Regions from separate parts of the Homo sapiens genome. Here region 1 is linked to region 2. The links are contacts of gene promoters, found by promoter capture Hi-C in blood cells and fetal thymus (Javierre and others, 2016). All regions are on one chromosome and are shown on one strand. Each heading gives the region's core, a stretch centred on a gene start or on the middle of the fragment in contact. The rest is flanking DNA. Distances are from core to core; before and after follow the strand shown.

Region 1 (3,876 bases), core at 1,273-3,772, 520 kb before region 2:
GCAACCTCCGCCTACCAGGTTCAAGCAATTCTCCTGCCTCAGCCTCCTGAGTAGCTGGGATTACAGGAGTGTACCACCATGCCCGGCTAATTTTTGTATTTTTAGTAGAGACGGGGTTTCACCATGTTGGCCAGGCTGGTCTTGAACTTATGACCTCAAATGATCCATGCGCCTCGGCCTCCGAAAGTGCTGGGATTACAGGTTTGACCCACCGCACCCGGCTCGAAGCTAGTATTTTTGAGAGGTTCTTGCGTGTTGTTCTAGGGCAGAGGTGCTTACCCTGGGGTCCATGGACTCAAAGGTAGATTTCACAGGGTTCATGAACCTGAATGGATTCAATTATTTTAATTAGCTTCTAGCTAAAATTCACTTATGAATTCCGCCCATTATGAATTAAGGCAACAAAGCACAGTGGTAATTGTAGTACACGGCTTTGTCCTCAGCGGAAATCATAGATATTCTCAGATTATATTACAGTAGCTGCAGATGTTGTGAAATGTTGTCTGGGCTCATCATTGCTTTGAAACTGTGGAGTTATTTTACCCTATTATTTAATGAGTTTACAAAGAATCACATGTTACTGTATCTTTTTTTTTTTTTTTGAGATGGAGTTTCGCTCCTGTTGCCCAGGCTGGAGTGCAATGGCACGATCTCGGCTCACTGCAACCTCCGCCTCCCGGGTTCAAGTGATTCTCCTGCCTCAGCCTCCCCAGTAGCTGGGATTACAGGCGCCTGCCACGACACCCAGCTAATTTTTGTATTTTTAGTAGAGACGGTGTTTCACCACGTTGGCCAGGCTGGTCTTGAACCCCTGACCTTATGTGATTCACCCACCTCGGCCTCCCAAAGTGTTGGGGTTACAGGCGTGAGCCACCGCACCCGGCCTGTTACTATATGTTATTTTGTTTAATGCTTTGATAACCATATTCCAAGGTAGTTGGATTCCTCTGCATTCCTGCATATTTTATTCATGAATTCATGATTCTGTGCAGTGTCCACAGGCTTCCTTAGAATGATTAGGGGCACAAGAAATATTGGGAACCCCCTGGTCTATTTTCATTGTAACTGGCAGAAGGGCTCAAATAAGACAAAAGAGAAATAATTGGCTCCCTAACAGAGAAGTCCATGGACACCCTACATTCAGATGTTTGAACGATGTCCTCAGGAGCCCATTTCTCTCCAACTCTGGCTTCTGCTGGCTTCTGAGTCACCTCCTTCTTAGGCAAGTCCTGCCCACACCATGCCCACGCTCAGGCTGTGATGACCTGGGCAGCTCTGGGCTTAACTAGCCCTTTCAGCCAGGAATCCAGTAGATAAACGGAGGACATCTTTCTGGATTGCTTTTGTGAAACTCTCAGAGATGAGGCTTATTGGCTGGCATGCCTGGGTCATGTGCCCATACTAAACTAATCACAGTGGTGAGGAACATGGAGTACTCTGATTGGCCTGCTTGGGTCATGTGGCAATCCTGAGCCAATTATATTGATGGGAAGAAGTATTCTGATTGGCCTGCTTGGGTCATGTGCTCATCCTGGAAGCAAGGTAGGCAGCGATTGCTGGGTGACTTGTTTATCTCGAAATCAGGCTGGATTAGGGTCTTAGTGGCAGGAGTGTCCAATCTTTCGGCTTCCCTGGGCCACATTGGAAGAAGAAGTGTTAGTGTGGAAGAAGTGAATTTAGTCTAACACTAAGGATAGTGTTTTAGCTTATAGCTGATGAGCTAAAAAAAAAAAAAAAAAAAATCACACACACGCAAATCTCATAATGTTTTAAGAAAGTTTATGAGTTTGCGTTGGGCCTCATTCAGAGCTGTCCTGGGCCGAATGCGGCTAGTCGTGGGTTGGACAAGCTTGGTCTAGACTTTCATGGTCTAAAGTTATGGCTCTCCTAATTCCTGCAGTGAGATAAGACCCCTGCAGAGAATGATGACAACCGGTGCTCATATAGTGCTTGTTGGGTGCCAGGGACTGCTGTAGTACTTTATACATATTTATCTTCACAGTCCATTCAGTCCTTTCAAGAACACTAGGAGGTGGGTCCTATTACTAACTTAATAGTGCTAAATATATACACGTACTATGTACCCTCACACACACACACACACAAATAGTGCTGACAAGGTCATTATCACGCAATTGGCAAATGGCAGCCCTAGAATCCCAGGCCCAGCTCTTCTCTATAACTATGTTGCTTTTCCTTGCCTGCTAGGGGACCTTAGGCGAGGGTTGCCCCTCCTGGGTGTCAGTGCTTCCATCCATAACACAAGAATTGGACTGACAGTTTTCGGGGGTTGGAGGTGGAGCTGGGAGGGGCGTCAGGGATGAGAGGTGTGGGGCATTGGGTCATAAGGCCTTTGCTAAGTCAGCCTGGCTTGGAGCTTCTCTGTTTCTTTTCCCAGGGCTGTTCCCGACACAGCAGTGCCCACAGAGGCCTACTGACTGCAGGAAGCAGTGTGAGCCTGACTACTACCTGGATGAGGCCGACCGCTGTACAGCCTGCGTGACTTGTTCTCGAGGTAAGGGCCTTGTTCTCTCTCCAGGGCCTCCTTCTAGGGAGCATGAGGGGTCCTCAGAGGAGAGGTGAAGAATCTGGAAGGTGGAGAGCATCATGATTTGATGTCTGTTCTCTGAATTGTCCTCCTGGTGCCTCAGTTTACCTCTCTGCATTTGTGATTTGATATCAGCCATGACCTTTTGCATCCATACTTTCACAGAGACTTAACATGTTTCCTGAAGGAGAGGACTCACATTTTTTTGAGTTTAATCCTCACCACAGCCCTAGGGGAGGATTTCTTGCTTATCCTTACTTTACAATGAGGAATTTGAGGATAGGGAGGTTAAGGGCCTTTCCAAAGTTACAAAACTCTGGTAAGTGGCAGAACTGGAGTTTGAGTTGTGGCCTGACACCAAGAGCTGTGTTCTTTTCCTAAGATCACAGGACTTCCAGGAAAACTGTTTCAGTATGACCTTTTATTGTTAGTCTCTTATTATGGTTAGAGAATGCAGTCTGTGTGCTATCTAGTGTTTATTTTTGTGTGGATTTTTTTGGGGGGTAGGGTGGGGGAAATTTGTTGAGATCTTTTTGTGGTCTAATAAATAATAAATGATCATGTATTTTCAGAGTGTTCAGTGTATGGGTGTTTTAAAATGTGTATTCTGTTTGTTGCGTATAAAGTTCTCTACATATCTATTAAGTTAAGCTTGTTAATTGTGTTATTTAAATAATGTGTACCCTTATTTACTTTTATCACCTTTATTTCTGAGAGATGTGTTAAAATCTTATCTCCCAGTATACTTGTTCATCTATTAGATTTTCATTGTGTTCTTTCTATTTTTGCTTCATATATGTCAAAGCTATGTTATTAGGTACATAAATGTTCATGAATGTTATGTTTTTTTGGTGGGTTGGGCTTTTTATCCACATGAATATACCTCTCCATTCCTTGTAATGCCTTTTCCCTTAATTTCACATTTGTTTGGCATTAATATTGCTATTCCTTCCTGGAAGAAGTAGCAAAGGTTAAAAAGAAAGAAAAGTAATAATAATATTGCCATTTCTTCTTTCTTTTTATTAGCATTTATCTGGTGTATCTTTGAATTTCTAAAAGTAATGACTGCATTTTATGAAATGAAAATTATAAACATTTATTATTTAAAATTCAAGCAATACAAAGAGTGTAAGGAAGAAAACAAACATTGCCCTCCCCAGCCCTCCATCTATAGATAACTACTATTATCATTAGATGGCTGACACGCCTCTACCTCTCTGTATAAAGATGGGTAGGTTAGTAACCAGACAGCCTGTACACACTTACAAAGAAGGAATTTTAAGAGAATGGCAACATATTTATGGCATTAAAATGATAATATTTAATTT
Region 2 (3,972 bases), core at 146-2,645:
AAAGGGGGGAAGGCGGGGGAGGGGGGCACAACACCTTCCTTTGGGAGGCAGGAATGTGGGAAATGGTGGGTCTCTTAGGTTTCAGGGTGGGGGTGAATAGCCAGTCAGCCAGCCACCGATCCCAAAGGAGCGGATCAACTCTGAACCTGCCAAAAAAGACAGTCCGGTGCCCGGGAAATTTACAAGGTGAAACCGACTAGCTCAGCACTCGTGGGTGGCGCGGAGAAGTGGGGTGGCCGGCGACTCTCAGCTCCCGGGCGCGGGATCCCGCAGCGGCAGCAGGTGGGCTTACCCCCGCCCCTGCGGCCCCCCACTCCCTGGAGTCGCAGTGCCTGGTACCTTTCTGGCGCCGCGCTCCGCGAACTCGCGGGCGAGCTGACGCCCGATGCCTCTCCCGCCGCCGGTGATGAGGACGTTCTCCCGCGACAGGTCCCGCAGCTTGGCGGGCAGCACCAGTCCGACGGCTGCTTTCACCACCAGATAGATCATCTGTAGAGGGAACATCACCAGCGCGCCCAGCCGTTTCCACACCATCCTCCGCGCCGCGGAGCCGGGCAGGGGGCGAAACTCCCCGGGCCGAGCAATACAGGAATTAAAAAACACCCCGAACAATAAATAGTAAACCGAATAAGGAGGAGAGAGGCGTCCCACCTGGCCACTCTTGAAATCACCTCTTCCCAAATGCAAAGCACCGGGTGAGAAAAAGAAAAAAAAAAAAAAAAAAAAGATAAATTCTCCTCTGGGGGAGAAAAAGCGTCTCCTAAGGTTGGGACGGTAAAAGAGGTGGAGGGGGAAGCCGGAGGTGGAAAGTTCTAACAAGAAGTTTCTTGCCCCAGCAGCCGTTTCGGCTGGGGAATTCTCAGGTAATGTTTACAGACTGACAGAGGAGTTTAGGGAGGGGAAGAAAAAAAAAAAAAGGCACCAACCACACGCGCGCACCCTGCCTCGGTCCCGCGGTTTCAAAGTGCAAGATTAAAAAAAAAAAAAAAAAAAAAAAAAAAGCTGATTCCAAATTGTAGCGCCCCCACCCCCACCCCGTCTCCAGAAAAAAAAAAAAAAAAAAAGTGGGGGGAAAAAGTGCTTGGAGCTCCCAATTTCAGCCCGCGAAAGTCTCCCGACTCATTGCTATTCTTGGGCTCAGGAAATTGCTTAAACGCGATCTGATTGCCAGCAACGTGCAGGAGAAGTGGGGGGTCCGGGTGTCAGTTTCTTTACGTGCAGCGCTCGCCCTCGCGCGCGCTCGCTCGCTCCGGCTCCCTCCCTCCCTCTCTGTTCCAGCAGAGGCTGGGAGTTGCCGCTCGATCCAGCTCCCCTTCTCTCCCTTTTTAGCATTTATTGCCTTCTTTTTGTCCTTTCCAACTTGGAGAGGGTCCGGGTGTGGAGCGCGCGTGGATCGGACGCCTTGGTCTGCGCGGCCCTATTCATTCGCTCCCCGGGCAGCCGCGTCGCGGAGAGGGCGGCCCCTTTTTCCCCCATTTTTTCAATACCCCATTAAGTCTGATTGACAGTTAAAGTTGTTGGGAGGCTTCACTACCGTTCCTCTGAGTGGCTGCTGCGGCCTCCCCTCCCCCTGCGCCGTCGCGGGGAGCGCGCATAAGGCGCGCACTCGGGCTCGCCGGGACTCGCGCTCTCCCGGGACTGGCTCCCCTCTCTGCAAGCCGGGACTTGCCGCCGGTGTCCCTGAGGGCTCGCAGCTGTAACTCGAACACGCTGGAACCGACTCCGGCGAGCCGGCTGCCTTCTCGAGACGTTCCTCCTTGCCCGGGCCGCCCGCGGGCCAGGTGATCACCCCGAGTGTGGAGCAGGCCCGGGGGAGCTTGCGTATGCCTTGATCCAACCAGGTCACCCAGGGTTTTATTTCAGGTCATTTGGTCATCCTCGGCCTCCAGGTAGGATCAGGAAGCCACTCCTCACCTTTGCCCGGACCTCTTCTGTGTTCACGTAGAGTGGACTTTTAAAAGCCTGACCCAAGTGCCTCACGATGCTTAGGGGGAAGCCGCTGGGGAGCAGGACTTTGCTTTGAGGGGAGGGAGTAGTCAAGGTAAAGGAACCTCTGCTCCGAGTGCCAATAAAATCCCCACAAGATTAGCTGGGAGCATATTTATTGCTCATCTGAGCTAGAATTACCTTGACTGACACCAATTTCCTTAATAACAAAAGCCTGTAAACAAAACGTCCTATTCGTGCGCCCCTGTGCTGTGCAGCCAGCGTCTCCTGTCCTTGGGTCTCCCTGGACTGCCCTGGCGGGGCACCCACCTTCTAACCTCCTGCCCTTCCCGACCGGAATGTCTCCCCTGCTGGAGGGTGGGACCGAGCTATTTAGAGTTGTCTGTTGCAGGAAGTCTGGGAGGTGAGTCACTAAAAAGCAGCCCCAGTTCAAAGTGCTGATGGGACTTGCCTCCCGCCCCCCTGCACGTTCCCGGGGCCGGAGGAGCGAGAGCGAAGCAGGGAGCTGCCCTGTAATCTGGGGCAGCCGTTTCCAGCCCGCGACTTGTTCAGACGGCGATTCCTGGGCCTCACCCCCAGAGATTCTGATTCAGCAGGGCTGGGTGCGCTGGGATCGGTACTTTCAATGCTCCGCCTGGTGAGAAAGTCACTTCGAAAAACGCTGATCTGCGGGGAGGGGAGGCTGGGATTACCTCGTCACCTGCAAAGACCTAGTTCTGGGGAGAGGTTCTGCAGGGGAGGATCTTCCTTCTGGGTGAAAAGCCACTGGAAGAGCAAAAGGCAGGAGAGGCTTAGGATGAGCAACTGTCCTGCACTGAGGGCCTATATTCTGACACAGTCCTTCCCCTGACCTTGCAATCGGGGGACTGTTATCCCATCGTCCAGGTTACCCAGCCAGGAAGTGCAGGAGGGGGGATCCCAATCCAAACCTCTTCCCACTCTGACCAGACGGGAGGAGAGAAGTGGAGGATGGGGTTCAGCTAAGGGTTGCAGAGCAGAGACCCCCCCACCCCCCTAACGCCCCCAAGAGTCTGACCGAAGGGCGGACCAATGTCTCCATCAGACCCCAGGGCCGGAATCCATTGTGGTGACGGCCTCCTCTCATCTTCGAGGTCTGTAAAAATGGGAAAGCGATTCCAGCCTGGGAGTGACAGGCCTTTCCCACCCAGCAGCGGCTGGTGTCCGCCAGGCCTGCGAAGAAGCCTGGAAAGATCTGAAGACAGAACCAGGCTGCAAAAGCGGGCTTTGCTCATCTGTTGTCCTCGGAGCCGCCTGGTGGCCCAGATAGGATACTGCGCCTCCGAGCTGCCCGGCCTCCAACCCAGCGGCGTTCCTGCTAACTAGCCATGCTTTTCTTCCAGGCATTTCTCTCATGTAAGGTTAACACCCCAAGTCTAAAAGGGCTTGTGAAGATCATAGTCCTCCTCCCCCACCCCAAACACACTTTTATGGCTGGGGAAACTAAAGCCAAAAGATATGAAGCAACTCATATACAGAGATGCATTTTCACCCCGGTCAGATGCCAGACCGGCTGGGTAACCGTTAGGTCCCTCTTACATCTCTCTGGTTGTGTGCCTGGGATGGAGGGCAGACGGTGGGAAGGAGGTCGGGAACCCAAATTGGCCTTTAGTGCCTCAGGGCCTTTACACAGTTTCTGATTGAATTTCCTTAACAGCCCAGGGAGGCTCGTGCCCATTTATTGCAGGAGGAAACAGGCTCAGTAAATCTAAGTAACTTGTGCAATGCCACGCAACCTGCTTCTCAAAAGGTTTGGGATGAAATCAGAGGGAAAAAGAACATGTCAGACATTCCCCAAAGGAACTGACAGTTCCAGAAGCTGGCCTGAGGTGGATGGTGGCCTTTTTTTCTACTTGGTCCATCTTTCAGGATGTGGTTTTTGTGGGACTGGCAGCTCTGCAAGCCACACGTTTCTCCCAGCATCAACTGCTCAGAGAGAAACTTGTCACCTCCTCTGTTGCCCTCCCCCGAGGTCCCTGGGAAGATGGGGCCAAGGAGACCTTGTGT

What was found. Contacts are between HindIII fragments. The CHiCAGO score rates a contact against its expected background, and 5 or more counts as called.
Region 1: a contact is called between a fragment that was not itself captured here and the fragment with the promoter of DHRS3 in region 2, in 1 of 17 cell types (neutrophils). The highest score is 5.2, in neutrophils.

Annotation. Positions count from the first base shown.
Region 1 is chr1:12,094,703-12,098,578 of GRCh38, forward strand. TNFRSF8 (TNF receptor superfamily member 8) reads left to right here. Exons shown (of 15, transcript NM_001243.5): 3 at 2,399-2,515. Among named protein-coding and RNA genes, the nearest start is that of TNFRSF8, 33 kb to the left of the region's middle. The HindIII fragment of the contact is 1,350 bases long and covers 1,848-3,197 here.
Region 2 is chr1:12,616,815-12,620,786 of GRCh38, forward strand. It overlaps DHRS3 (dehydrogenase/reductase 3), which reads right to left and starts at 1,396. Exons shown (of 6, transcript NM_004753.7): 1 at 340-1,396. The coding sequence starts at 534. RefSeq lists enhancers at 1,021-1,652, 1,653-2,284, 2,285-2,916 and a silencer at 3,152-3,403. The HindIII fragment of the contact is 18,116 bases long and covers 1-3,972 here.